Regions from separate parts of the Homo sapiens genome. Here region 1 is linked to region 2. The links are contacts of gene promoters, found by promoter capture Hi-C in blood cells and fetal thymus (Javierre and others, 2016). All regions are on one chromosome and are shown on one strand. The core of a region is centred on a gene start or on the middle of the fragment in contact, and the rest is flanking DNA. Distances in the headings are between cores, read along the strand shown.

The links. The method cuts DNA at HindIII sites, captures the fragments that hold promoters and counts their contacts. A CHiCAGO score of 5 or more calls a contact.
Region 1: a contact is called between a fragment that was not itself captured here and the fragment with the promoter of FAM241A in region 2, in 1 of 17 cell types (fetal thymus). The highest score is 6.8, in fetal thymus.

What each region holds. Positions count from the first base shown.
Region 1 is chr4:110,187,412-110,193,657 of GRCh38, forward strand. The region is part of intron 1 of ELOVL6 (ELOVL fatty acid elongase 6); the gene reads right to left. Among named protein-coding and RNA genes, the nearest start is that of ELOVL6, 8.1 kb to the right of the region's middle. The HindIII fragment of the contact is 3,393 bases long and covers 3,021-6,246 here.
Region 2 is chr4:112,141,534-112,147,209 of GRCh38, forward strand. It overlaps FAM241A (family with sequence similarity 241 member A), which reads left to right and starts at 3,921. Exons shown (of 2, transcript NM_152400.3): 1 at 3,921-4,200. The coding sequence starts at 4,048. RefSeq lists a silencer at 3,702-4,351 and an enhancer at 4,692-4,831. The HindIII fragment of the contact is 3,530 bases long and covers 1,251-4,780 here.

The DNA of each region.
Region 1 (6,246 bases), core at 3,467-5,966, 2.0 Mb before region 2:
ATGAAGGCTTCTCAAGTTAGACCTCAGCAAAATGAAAAAAAAAAAAAAATTGCTTGGGAGGCCGAGGCAGGCGGATCACCTGAGATCAGGAGTTTGAGACCAGTGAAACCCCGTCTCTACTAAAAATACAAAAAATTAGCCTGGCATGGTGGCACGCATGTGTAGTCCCAACTAATAGGGAGGCTGAGGCAGGAGGATCACTTGAACCCAGGAGGCAGAGGTTGCAGTGAGCCAAGATCACACCACTGCACTCCAGCCTGGGTAACAGGAATGAAACTCCATCTAAAAAAAAAAAAAAAAAATTGTAATGTGATAGTACGTAAATCTGTTCAGTGCAGTCCCTGGCACATAGTAGGGAACCCAGGCTGTCACAGTTTAGGTACTGAATGGTCTAAGGCATACTAAAAAACCTGGAAACAAGGCTGAAGGAAATGGAGCAAAATAACAGTGGCAGCCTCTGGAAAAGAATTAAAGGTGTTTCCTTTCCGACATCTTTATACTTCTTAATGTTTTCATTTCATTTCTTTTCCTGTAACTATTTCTTACCTTAGAATCAGGAAAAGAATTTAAAGCTACTAAAATGAAACAAAAGGTATTCTGTGATTCTTCACATTGTAGGAGCTGACCTTCAAGAATAGGGATATCCCCAACCCACATATTTTTATTTTACTGTCAACAGTGGGTGGCTATTTACAAGTAGCTACACTAAAACCTGCTGGGAAGAAAGTCTGGCTGCAGATCAGATGGAAACACAAATTCCCAGGGTCTAGAACCAAGCTGAGTGCAAGAAATTAATATCACAGAGCAGACAGTAAATATTTCATAGGCCAAAGCTTTATTCTGGCCTTAAGTATTCAGGATCCACCCAGTGAAAATTATTAACAAAAGAGACATTTGTGAGATCATTGACTAAAACCACAGATACCTGACACGTTTCCAGTGCAGCCAAGTTTTCAAGTGCATTGTTTTTCTGATTGAATATTATATTAATATTCAAATAAGAGGATGATTGGGGCCTTGTGACACACCCCTCATCATCACACCAGCCATCCAAGCCTTATTCAAGCCTGGAACCCAGTTTTCCTTTTCTGATTCCTACATGCAAATCCCAACTCCCCTTCCTGAGTTGTCCATCGTGCAAAAGATCATAAAGGGTGGCTGCAAGGGTTTAACAGTTAAAGTACGTAAAACATTGGCCAGGCGCGGTGGCTCATGACTGTTATCCCAGCACTTTGGGAGGCCGAGGTGGGAGGATCACCTGAGGTTAGGAGTTCGAGACCAGCCTGACCAACATGGAAGAAACCCCATCTCTACTAAATATACAAAAAAAATTAGCCAGGCATGGTGGCGTATGCCTGTAATCCCAGCTACTCAAGAGGCTGAGGCGGAGAGTTGCTTGAACCTGGGAGGCAGAGGTTGCGGTGAGTCGAGATCATGCCATTGCACTCCACTGGGCAACAAGAGTGAAACTCGGTCTCAAAAAAAAAAAAAAAAGTAAAACATTATAAAAGGATGCCTGCAATCAGGTAACCATGTATTAACTGTTAGTATCATTGCTCCTGAATGAAGAAAATCTACCCTGCTGTCTAGGTGTGGTGGTTTACACCTGTAATCCTAGCACTTTGGGAAGCTGAGATGGGAGGATCACTTGAGGCCAACAGTTCAAAACCAGCCTGGGCAACATAGCAAGACCCCCATCTCTCCAATACAATAAAAAAATTAGTTGGGCAAGGTGGTGCGTGCCTGTAATCCCAGCTACTTGGGAGGCTGAGGCAAGAAGATCGCTTGGACCAAGAAGCGGAGTTTGAGATTACAGTGAAGTATGATTGTGACACTGCACTCCAGCCTGGGTGACAAGCAAGACCCTGTCTCTATTTAAAAAAGAGAGAGAGAGGCTAGACGCAGTGGCTCACGCCTGTAGTCCCAAAACTTTGGGAGGCCGAGGTGGGCGGATCACTTGAGGCCAGGAGTTCGAGACCAGCCTGGCCAACATGGTGAAACCCCGTCTCTGCTAAAAATACAAAAATTAGGCAGGTGTGGTGGCAGGTGCCTGTAATCCCAGCTACTCAGAAGGCTGAGGCAGGGGAACTGCTTGAACCCAGAAGGTGGGAGTTGCAGTGAACTAACAGCCAAGATCATGCCACTGCACTCAGACTGGGAGACACAGCAAGACTCTGTCTCAAAAAAAAAAAAAAAAAAAAAAGAGAGAGAGAGAGAGAAAAGAAGAAAATGAAGTTATACTTGTTTACTTGTTTCACTTTAAATAGGATTATAGGGCTTGGCGCAGTGGCTCACACCTGTAATCCCAGCACTTTGGGAGGCCGAGGTGGGCAGATCACAAGGTCAGGAGATCGAGACCATCCTGGCTAACACAGTGAAACCCCGTCTCTACTAAAAATAGAAAAATTAGCCAGGTGTGATTGTGGGCGCCTGTAGTCCCAGCTACTCGGGAGGCTGAGGCAGGAGAATGGTGTGAACCCGGGAGGCAGAGCTTGCACTGAGCCGAGATCATGCCACTGCACTCCAGCCTGGGCGACAGAGCCAGACTCCATCTCAAAAAAAAAAAAAAATTGGATTATAAACCTCATGTGTGTTTTGAGGAGGTAGATCTCCCTCCCCAAAATATATTTCATCAATAAAACTTTCCTTATATCACAACTAGGAACTCTTCTATAAAAGTTTTAGCAAGAAAAAAAAAACTGAAATATGAATCCCTGTAAATAAAAGTATTACAAAACTATGAGTGATTTTCTAGCAAAACTACTTACAATCAGCATGTCTAATTTATCTCAGCAAATTTATCTTAGCAAAGGTAAGTGTAAGTCTTTTTTCTCCTGTACTTTTTTTTTGTACAAAGTAAAGACTTAAAGTTAAATCTCAGTAAGTTCACAGTGGGCAACTAACTCAGCAAAGGGTTTCCTAGTAATAGGAACCTTAAAACTAAAAGTCGCAAACACTCAATGCAGAAAGGAATCATGATAAATGTGTAGGCTTGACCTTAGATGACTGACATGGTTCCAAGCTTTGGGATAACTATTGCACAACCAACTTAAAATTACAAATTCATATTCTTTACTCTTGGGCAATACTTTTTTTGTTTTGTTTTGTTTTGAGACGGAGTCTCACTCTGTTGCCCAGGCTGGAGTGCAATGGTGCAATCTCGCCTCACTGGAACCTCGGCCTCCTGGGTTCAAGCGATTCTCCTGCCTCAGCCCCTGGAGTAGCTGGGATTACAGGCGCCCGCCACCACGCCCGGCTAATTTTTGTAGTTTTAGTAGAAATAGGGTTTCACCATGTTGGCCAGGCTGGTCTCGAACTCCTGACCTCAAGTGATCCACCCACCTCAGCCTCCCACAGCGCTGGGATTACAAGTATAAGCCACCATGCCCGGCCACTTTTTTTTTTTTCAATTTTTGTGTTTTTTTTGAGACACAGTTTTGCTCTGTTGCCCAAGCTGCATTGCAGTGGCATAATCTCAGCTCACTGCAACCTCCGCCTCCAGGTTCATGCCATTCTTGTGTCTCAGCATCCAGAGTAGCTGGGACTACAGGTGCGTACCACCATGACCAGCTAATTTTTGTATTTTTTGTAGAGACAGGGTTTCGCCACTTTGACCAGGCTGGTCTCGAACTCCTGACATCAAGTGATCCGCCTGCCTCGGCCTCCCAAAGTGCTGGGATTACAGGTGTGAGCCACCATACCCGACCCATACAATACTTTTTAAAAAAGGACCCATGTATCTCTAAAATAAATTATTGGAGGGTAAATATAATTAGAGATGCTGGGTTTTTTTAAAGTTCTCAGAAACCTCAATAACTATGCCAACATTTGTACCTGCCTGAATACATGTACAATCAGAATCTGGATAAAGGAATGAAGTTATGAGTTTTAACATTACAATATAGCCAAGTCATAGTTTCACTCAGATTACCTAGGGTTATCAACAGAAATGACATATGTGGTACAGGTAACTTTCCCTAAACCCTCCTAAAAAAGATAAATGAGAAGTAAATGGGAGCGGGTGGATGTGAGCTACATAAAGAGTAAAGGGAGGGCTGAGGCAAACTTTGTAGAATGATGTCTGGTTCCTATTAATAAAGGACAGTTTGGCTCACCTGTGTCCATATGTGAAAAATTAAGTTAATCATTAAGACAATGTTTGGTTAACTCATTTCAGAAAATAAAATACTTGGACCTGAAATATTTCAGATCACTTAAGCCAAGATAAATTCCTGAATTGCCAGAATGGTGCCACACTCATTTTACTTTGTTGTCTAAAGACTGATTAGATGGGGGGCCGGGCACCTGTAATCCCACCTACTCAGGAGGCTGAGGCTTGAACCCAGGAAGCAGAGGTTGCAGTGAGCCAAGACCAGGCTCAAAAAAAAGAAAAGAAAAAGAAAATTGATTAGATGGTTATTGTATATCCCCCTAAGTATTTCAAAACCTCCGTCCCCCTCATAACTCTTCCACTATCTAAGCTGAAAGATTCCTCTGGCCGGGCATGGTGGCTCACACCTGTAATCCCAGCACTTTGGGAGGCCGAGGTAGGTGGATCACCTGAAGTCAGGAGTTCGAGACCAGCCTGACTAACATGGTGAAAACTCGTTTCTACTAAATACAAAAAAATCAGCCGGGTGTAGTGGCGCATGCCTGTAAACCCAGCTACTCAGGAGGTTGAGGTAGGAGAATCACTTGAACCCAGGAGGCAGAGGTTGCAGTAAGCCGAGATGGAACAATTGCACTCCAGCCTGGGCAACAAGGGCAAAACTCCATCCAAGAAAAAAAAAAAAAAGAAAGAAAGAAAAAAAAGAAAAAGAAAGATTCTTCTTTCAAGGAAGTATATAAGGCAACTCTTAGATATGGAATAAGTTGACTTTGAAGTTTCCAGCCATTTTTCTTACAAATGCACGCAGAAGGTTACGAGGAAGATTTCAGGAAGAAATTTAAAGCAATCCTCACTAAAGGAAAAACAACAGTGAAATACTATGTCTGCATTTGAAAAGTTTCATTAAGTTCCAATGTTATACACTTTGACACATTTAGAATCACCCTCAAACAAAAAAGCAACAGGCAATCCTCTGAAGATCACAAAATTTTACTTCCAATGTGAAAAAGACTTCATGAAAAAATTTTAAGCACTAATTATAACTAGTACAAATACACAGATGGATAATATAATCATAAAATATTTTGCATTAAGCTGGCTTTCATCCTTTGGAATCCTAAACAAGAATTGCATGAATATTTATAATTTATTAAAAGATACATGAAAGTTCATATCAAAGCTCCAGCACAACTTTACATTATTTTCTAGGACCCCACACAGATTACACGTTTTTTCTCTATGTATTTTCTCATTCTTCTCACTCTTAACCTAGTACATATGCCTACATCCCAGTGCTTTCTAAAAATTATTGAATGTCATGTTATGATCCTCACACAAGTTTTAATCCTAAATCAATATGAACTGTGATACCTCAAAATAAACAGCAAGTGACATGAGTACAATATAGACACACTATATTCCTACAGAGCTGACCAAATTTGTTGCTGCAATGTTAATGATGAAATGAAACTCTGGCCTACTCTGTTCCATAGTCACAGATGCACTGTTTTCCAGCCATTTTTCTTACAAATGAATGTAGAAGGTTGCAAGGAAGACTTCAGGAAGCAATTCAAAGCAATCCTCACTAAATGAAAAACAACAGCCAAATACTATGTCTGCATTTGAACAGTTTCATTAACATTATGCTGCTATATTTTTTATGCTGCTATATTTGAGTTAAATGCTAACACAGGTTTTTAGTGCTTTTTATGTTCTTTAATCATGAAATTGTACATCGTGTTACTTTCCAAACTTCACCTACAAAAAAGATATAGATGTACAACTCCTTTTAAAATGTTTCACGGCCGGTTGCAGTGGCTCAAGCCTGTTATCTCAGCACTTTCGGAGGCCGAGGTGGGCGGATTACTTGAGGTCAGGAGTTCAAGACCAACCTGACCAACACGGTGAATTCCCATCTCTACTAAAAATACAAAAATTAGCTTGGTGTCATGGCAGGCACCTGTAATCCCAGCTGCTTGGGAGGTTGAGACATAAGAATCACTGGAACCCGGAGGCAGAGGTTGCAGTGAGCCAAGATTGTGCCACTGCACTCCAGCCTGGGCAACAGAGTGAGACCCTGTCTCAAAAATAAAACAAAATAAAATAAAATGTTTCACTCCATTTTTACCTTTGGTAAA
Region 2 (5,676 bases), core at 2,671-5,170:
AGGAAGTGAGGCCTCTCCAAGTTTCCTTTCCTTGAAATTTACATCAATTGTGCAAGAACCATAGTTTCCTGGAATTTTGGTTCAGATTCCAAACATCTCAAAAATAATTCCCTGTGCCCTGCTAAATAGAAAGGAAGCAGATGAAAATCATATGAGAAAAATTAAAGCATATAGGAAGCTTAGAATAACATTATAGTGTGTCAAAAATCAAACCAACAAATGTAATTTGGGGTAGTTTCCACAAATAACTGCATTTGTTTTTCTAAGATTGTATTACCAATTGAGTCCAGAACTCTCTGATTTGCTCGTTTCTCCCTCTGGAAAGATGCACAAATGAAATAAGAATAGAGGAACATTAAAAATAATAAAGGCATGAAAGTGAAGGATTAAAAGTCCTTGTTCCCATAGCAACTGCACCAGCCACATTTGCACTAGACAGGCCATTCCTTAGACGTGCATCTGTTTCTTGCACTTATTTATTTCTGGGAAAGCACAAAACACACTAATAAAATCACAACAAAACTCCATATGATTTGACTTTGGGAGGCCAAGGTAGGCGGATCACCTGAGCGCAGGAGTTCGAGACCAGCCTGGCTAACATGGCAAAATCCCATCTTTACAAAGATACAAAAATTAGCCTGGCATGGTGGCACACACCTGCAGTCCCAGCTACTTAGAGAGCTGAGGCAGGGCAGGAGGATCGCCTGAGCCTGGGAGGTGGAGGTTGCAGTAAGCTGTGATCATGCTACTGCACTGCAGCCTGGGTGGAAGAGCGACACTCTGCCAAAACACACACACACACACACACACACACAAACAAAAAAAAAAACCACTACATATGATTTGAGACCAACATGTTATAGTTGCCTAGGTAATAACAATCTTATATTTCCCATGGGAAACTGGCAGTGCTAGCTTTATGTGTATATTTTTCACATTGTGCAGCAGAGTGAAAACAGCCCTCTCCTCCCATAAGATTAGGCTGTAATCTGTTTAATGTCTTTTGTGTAAAATGCTAGATTTATTTAAAGAGGTGGTTCTCCAGATCTCCAGGAAAAATCAGACTCTATGAACAAAAGAATAACAGCTTAAAGAAAAACTCACTCACTAAATTAAAGGTAAATGATATTAAGAAAAAAAAAAAAGGTTCTGCCTTCAGTCCTAGGTGGAGATCCAAGGATTCTGGCTACTCTTCGGTAAAAGTTCTTGGTTTCTGCCAAGAAAATAACACAAGAATTGGATTAAAATGAAGCTTCATGAGAATAGGGACCTAGACCTGGGCCAAACGCCTAGTAGTGTTCAATAAGAGAATAGGGACCTAGACCTGGGCCTAAAGCCTAGTAGCGTTCAATAAATACCTACTAAAAAACTGAATTAATACACTTCTCAAAGACTCAAGAAGCCGGAATCTACAAAAGACCAGACAGTATACTCTAAAGGAATTTTGTAAGACTTGTCCCCTAAGCTGAACAAAGCTAACCTCTGTATTGTACCTGCCCAGCTATATAAATACTCTGTGCCTTCTGAGTCCTCTTATATATAAGGAATTTCTGCTCACTGTAGCCTGATTGAAGAGTGCATAGTTGTTTGGCTTATCAAGTTGCCAATCAAACGCTATGAGGGAGAACTTCAAAATGTGCCTTAGTTCATGGGGTTGGCAGTAAAGAGCTGATGTTCTCTGGGTTGCTGTATATAATTCCAAAGTTTTATCCAAAAAAGTTGATTTTTATTTTTTTATTTTTTTGAGACGGAGTCTTGCTCTGTCACCAGGCTGGAGTGTAGTGGCGTGATCTTGGCTCACTGCAACCTCTGCCTCCCGGGTTCAACTGATTCTCCTGCCTCAGCCTCCCTAGTAGCTGGGACTACAGGCATGTGCCACCACACCCAGCTAGTTTTTGTATTTGTAGTAGAGATGGGGTTTCACCATGTTGGCCAGGATGGTCTCCATCTCTTGACCTTGTGATTCGCCTGCCTCGGCCTCCCAAAGTGCTGGGATTACAGGCGTGAGCCACCACGCCCAGCCAAAAAAAAAAAAAGTTGGTTTTTATAAGAAACACTACTAATAGCCAAACCAAAATTCCAAGAATGAAAATGTTGCCTTCAGGGGAAAAAAAATGAGGCCCATCAGAAAGGCTACTGGGTTCCCATGGTGATATTTGTTTCTGATTGTATGTATATAATATTAAATACTCTTTTCTGGAGTTTTAAAGACTTTTAAGAAAGGGAATGAACCAGATTCATTTTCTTTCTAATTTTTGATATCCAACGGCATATTTTCTGGCCCCTAGAGAGATTGTTTGTGGAGGAGAGACAATCAGAGAGGGCATGTGTGAGAAACCATGTGTGAGAGATGGTGTGTGCGCGAGGTTGTATATGTGTGAGAGAGACTGTATGTATGTGAAATCATGTGTGTATGAGAGAGATTGTGTGTATGAGAGATTGTGGGTGTGTGAGAAAGACTGAGAATCTCCTGACTACAAAAAACAGGAAACTTCTTTAAAATAAGCCTATGAGATTCTGCCTATTTTAATTCCTTCTCTGGGCCTGAAAACATTTTAATAGAAGATCCCAAATAACTCTTACTCTTCTCCATGTGTACACATGTTTACTTTCCATATTTACTTTTCTGTATTTTACCTGTACAATAACCCATCGTTTTCCCAATGTACAGATAAGGCATACACAGAAAAAAAAGTGATATTTTATTTAAACACCCTTCCATTTTCCTTGAATAAAATGGATGGAGTAGTACAAAAAATAATTATCAATTGGATATATTCCCCTCACCACCCACTGAGAAAGACATATTCTTACCCAGTTACAGAAAGATACATCATTTGATACACCATCAAACGACCCAAGGCTCCAACAAACAACACACACTAGGAAGCACTCAACAGAAAGGGACAAATACACAGACCTTCAGTGAGACACTAGGAAAGGAGGCTAAAGGAACAAGAGGGACAGTGAAATGTGTCTTCCTTGAAAAGGACGGGCAGATACTCAGGCAAGAACAGGGGTACTCTGCTGGAGAGTGTAACTGGGTGCATGTGTGTGTTTCTCTCTCACATACAAACCCACACACACTAATCTCTTATACAAATGCGCTCTCTCTTAAATATATGCACTGGCTCTCTCACACAAGTAATTTCTCTTTCACACTTGATCTCTCTCAGTTTCTGTTGTTCCCTCATACAATCTCTCTCTCACAGTCTCTTGCATACACATACAATCTCAATCTCTCTCTCTCTCTCTCTCTCTCTCTCTTTCCCCCCCCCCTCCTCTCTCTCTCTCTCTCTCTCTCTGAAACGGGGTCTGGTTCTGTCGCCCACGCTGGAGTGCAGTGGTGTGATCTCTGCTCACTGCAGCCTCGACTTCCCGCGCTGAGACGATCCTCCCACCTCAGCCTCCTGAGTAGCTGGGACCACACTGCCGCCACCACGCCCGCCTAATTCTATTTTTAGTAGAGATGGGGTTGCCCAGGCTGGTCTCCAACTCCTGGGCTCAAGCTATCTGCCCGCCTCGGCCTCCCAAAGTGCATACAATCTCTTATACGCAGTTTCTTTTATATAGAATCTCTCTCACACACACACACAAATCACGCTCAGCGTCTCTCTCACACTCTCTAACGGTCTCTTACGCACACACAATATCCCTCATACATACACACAGCCTCTCTCATGTACAATCTCCCTCATGCAGTGTATGTCCATAGTTTTTCACACAACACCCTTCTTCTCTCAGTCTGTCGGCCTCTCTCTCAATCTCACACACACACCCCCGCCCCCCAACACACCGTTGGCCCCGCCCCCTGTCTTGGCCCCTCCCCTGTACGGCTCCGCCCCGACGGCCGGGGGTTGGGCGAGCCAGTGACAGGAGGGGCCGGGCTGGTACTTCAGGCGCCCAGGCCGGCGGGGCGCGCTCCGGCGGCTCCTGTCAGCGGCGGGTGCGGCGGATCCCAGGGCAGCCTTCGGGCGGCGGCGCTGCCTGGTGCGTCGCGGCGTGGTCCTCCGGCGGCTGTCCGGGGCGGTAGGAGTTGGCTGCGGGATGTGCTCAGCCGGGGAGCTGCTGCGGGGCGGCGACGGCGGGGAACGCGACGAGGACGGGGACGCGCTGGCGGAGCGGGAGGCGGCAGGGACCGGGTGGGATCCCGGGGCGAGCCCGCGGCGGCGCGGACAGCGGCCGAAGGAGAGCGAGCAGGTGAGCGCGGGGAGGGGCGGCGGCGAAGCGGCCGGGTCGGGGGCCGCGAGCCCCGCCCGGCGTTGGAGGGAAGGGGCCCGGCCCGCGGGCCGCGCCGCAGCTCTGCCCCGCGTGGGCACTGGCTCCCCGGCGCTCTGGGAAGTCGTCGCCGGGAGCGGTTAGACGGCGCTCCCAGGAGGAGCGGCGGGGTCGCGCGAGTGCAGACGCCAGCGCCGGCCCCGGGGTCGCGTGTCTGGCGGGGTCAGCGTGGTTCGTCCCCTGGCGTCCGGCAGAGGATTCTCAGGCTGGCGCCCAGGGCTCGGAGGAAATGCCCTCCATAGCGGTGATTTATTTAAAAGCCTCACTTGTAAACACTTCTTTTTCAACTTCGAGTCCGTGCCCTGCGCCAGGTTTAGGAGACGCCGGCTCCCCTCCCGCCCTCCATCTTGCGTTTCCGAGCCCACACCTAGCGTGTCTGGAAGGTGTGGGTGGATTCCGTCCACGGGCAGCGCTGAAAGCATGAGTAGGAGCGGGTGTTACAATGAATGTCTTGACAGGGACTCTCCCAGAGCACGTTCTTCATAAATACAGATGAGATCAAAGCTTCAGTTAAAAAGTGGAGAGGCAAGAATATTGCTTTCGGTTATAAGAGGCCAGCCATAGTAAGGGAAAAGAGAAGTTGCGTAATTTTTTAAACTCTCTGAGTTTATCTCATTTAAATAAAGTGTGATAATGGGCATTATAACATCAAATATCTTAAAGATTAGGCAAAAGGTTTAATTTTAAAAATTGAATTGTATGTTGGATGAATTTTCTACAGCAAATACAGTATTTAGACTTTCCAAATACCTGAGGTAAGCCGCTCTTTAGACTCACATTAAGGAGCAGGAATTCAAATGATTATTGGCCTTTATTACAGCCTGTACTGTTAGGACAATTAATACCTGTCTCTCCTCATCTTTCTTCATCTGTCCTTTCTGTCACGTTTCACAAATTCCAGTATCATCACTAAATGCATTAATAGATGTATACCTTACATTGTTTCAATAGGTTACTTAGGAAACAGAGTAATACTGTGTGGCACACAAAATATGCCTTAGCGTTAGGTTTGATCACCACGTGGAGTGTAATTTTTCATCTGTGACAATATAAGAGAAAGTGACTCAAGCAAATAATTTGGTAGCTTGTTCTTCGGATTCCCTTCCTAGTGGTTTTTCCCGTTAACTATTCATTTGCTCAAGGGCTTGATTTCCTCTAACTTAAATTGCTTAACTGGAAAAGTGAAGAAGACAGCACAAGAATTCCTTTGGGGGTGGGGAGGGGTTGCATTTGAGCAGGGGTTTCCAAAGTAAATTTTCAAATAGTTGTAAGGGAGCATATAAAAATACTTCATTTAAGCTTCTGTGTACTTCATTAGTATGATTATGTAGACATCACTAATAGTTGTGGTCTTTCCAAAATTGCTTATGGTACAAAGTAAAAGGATAAAACAAAAAA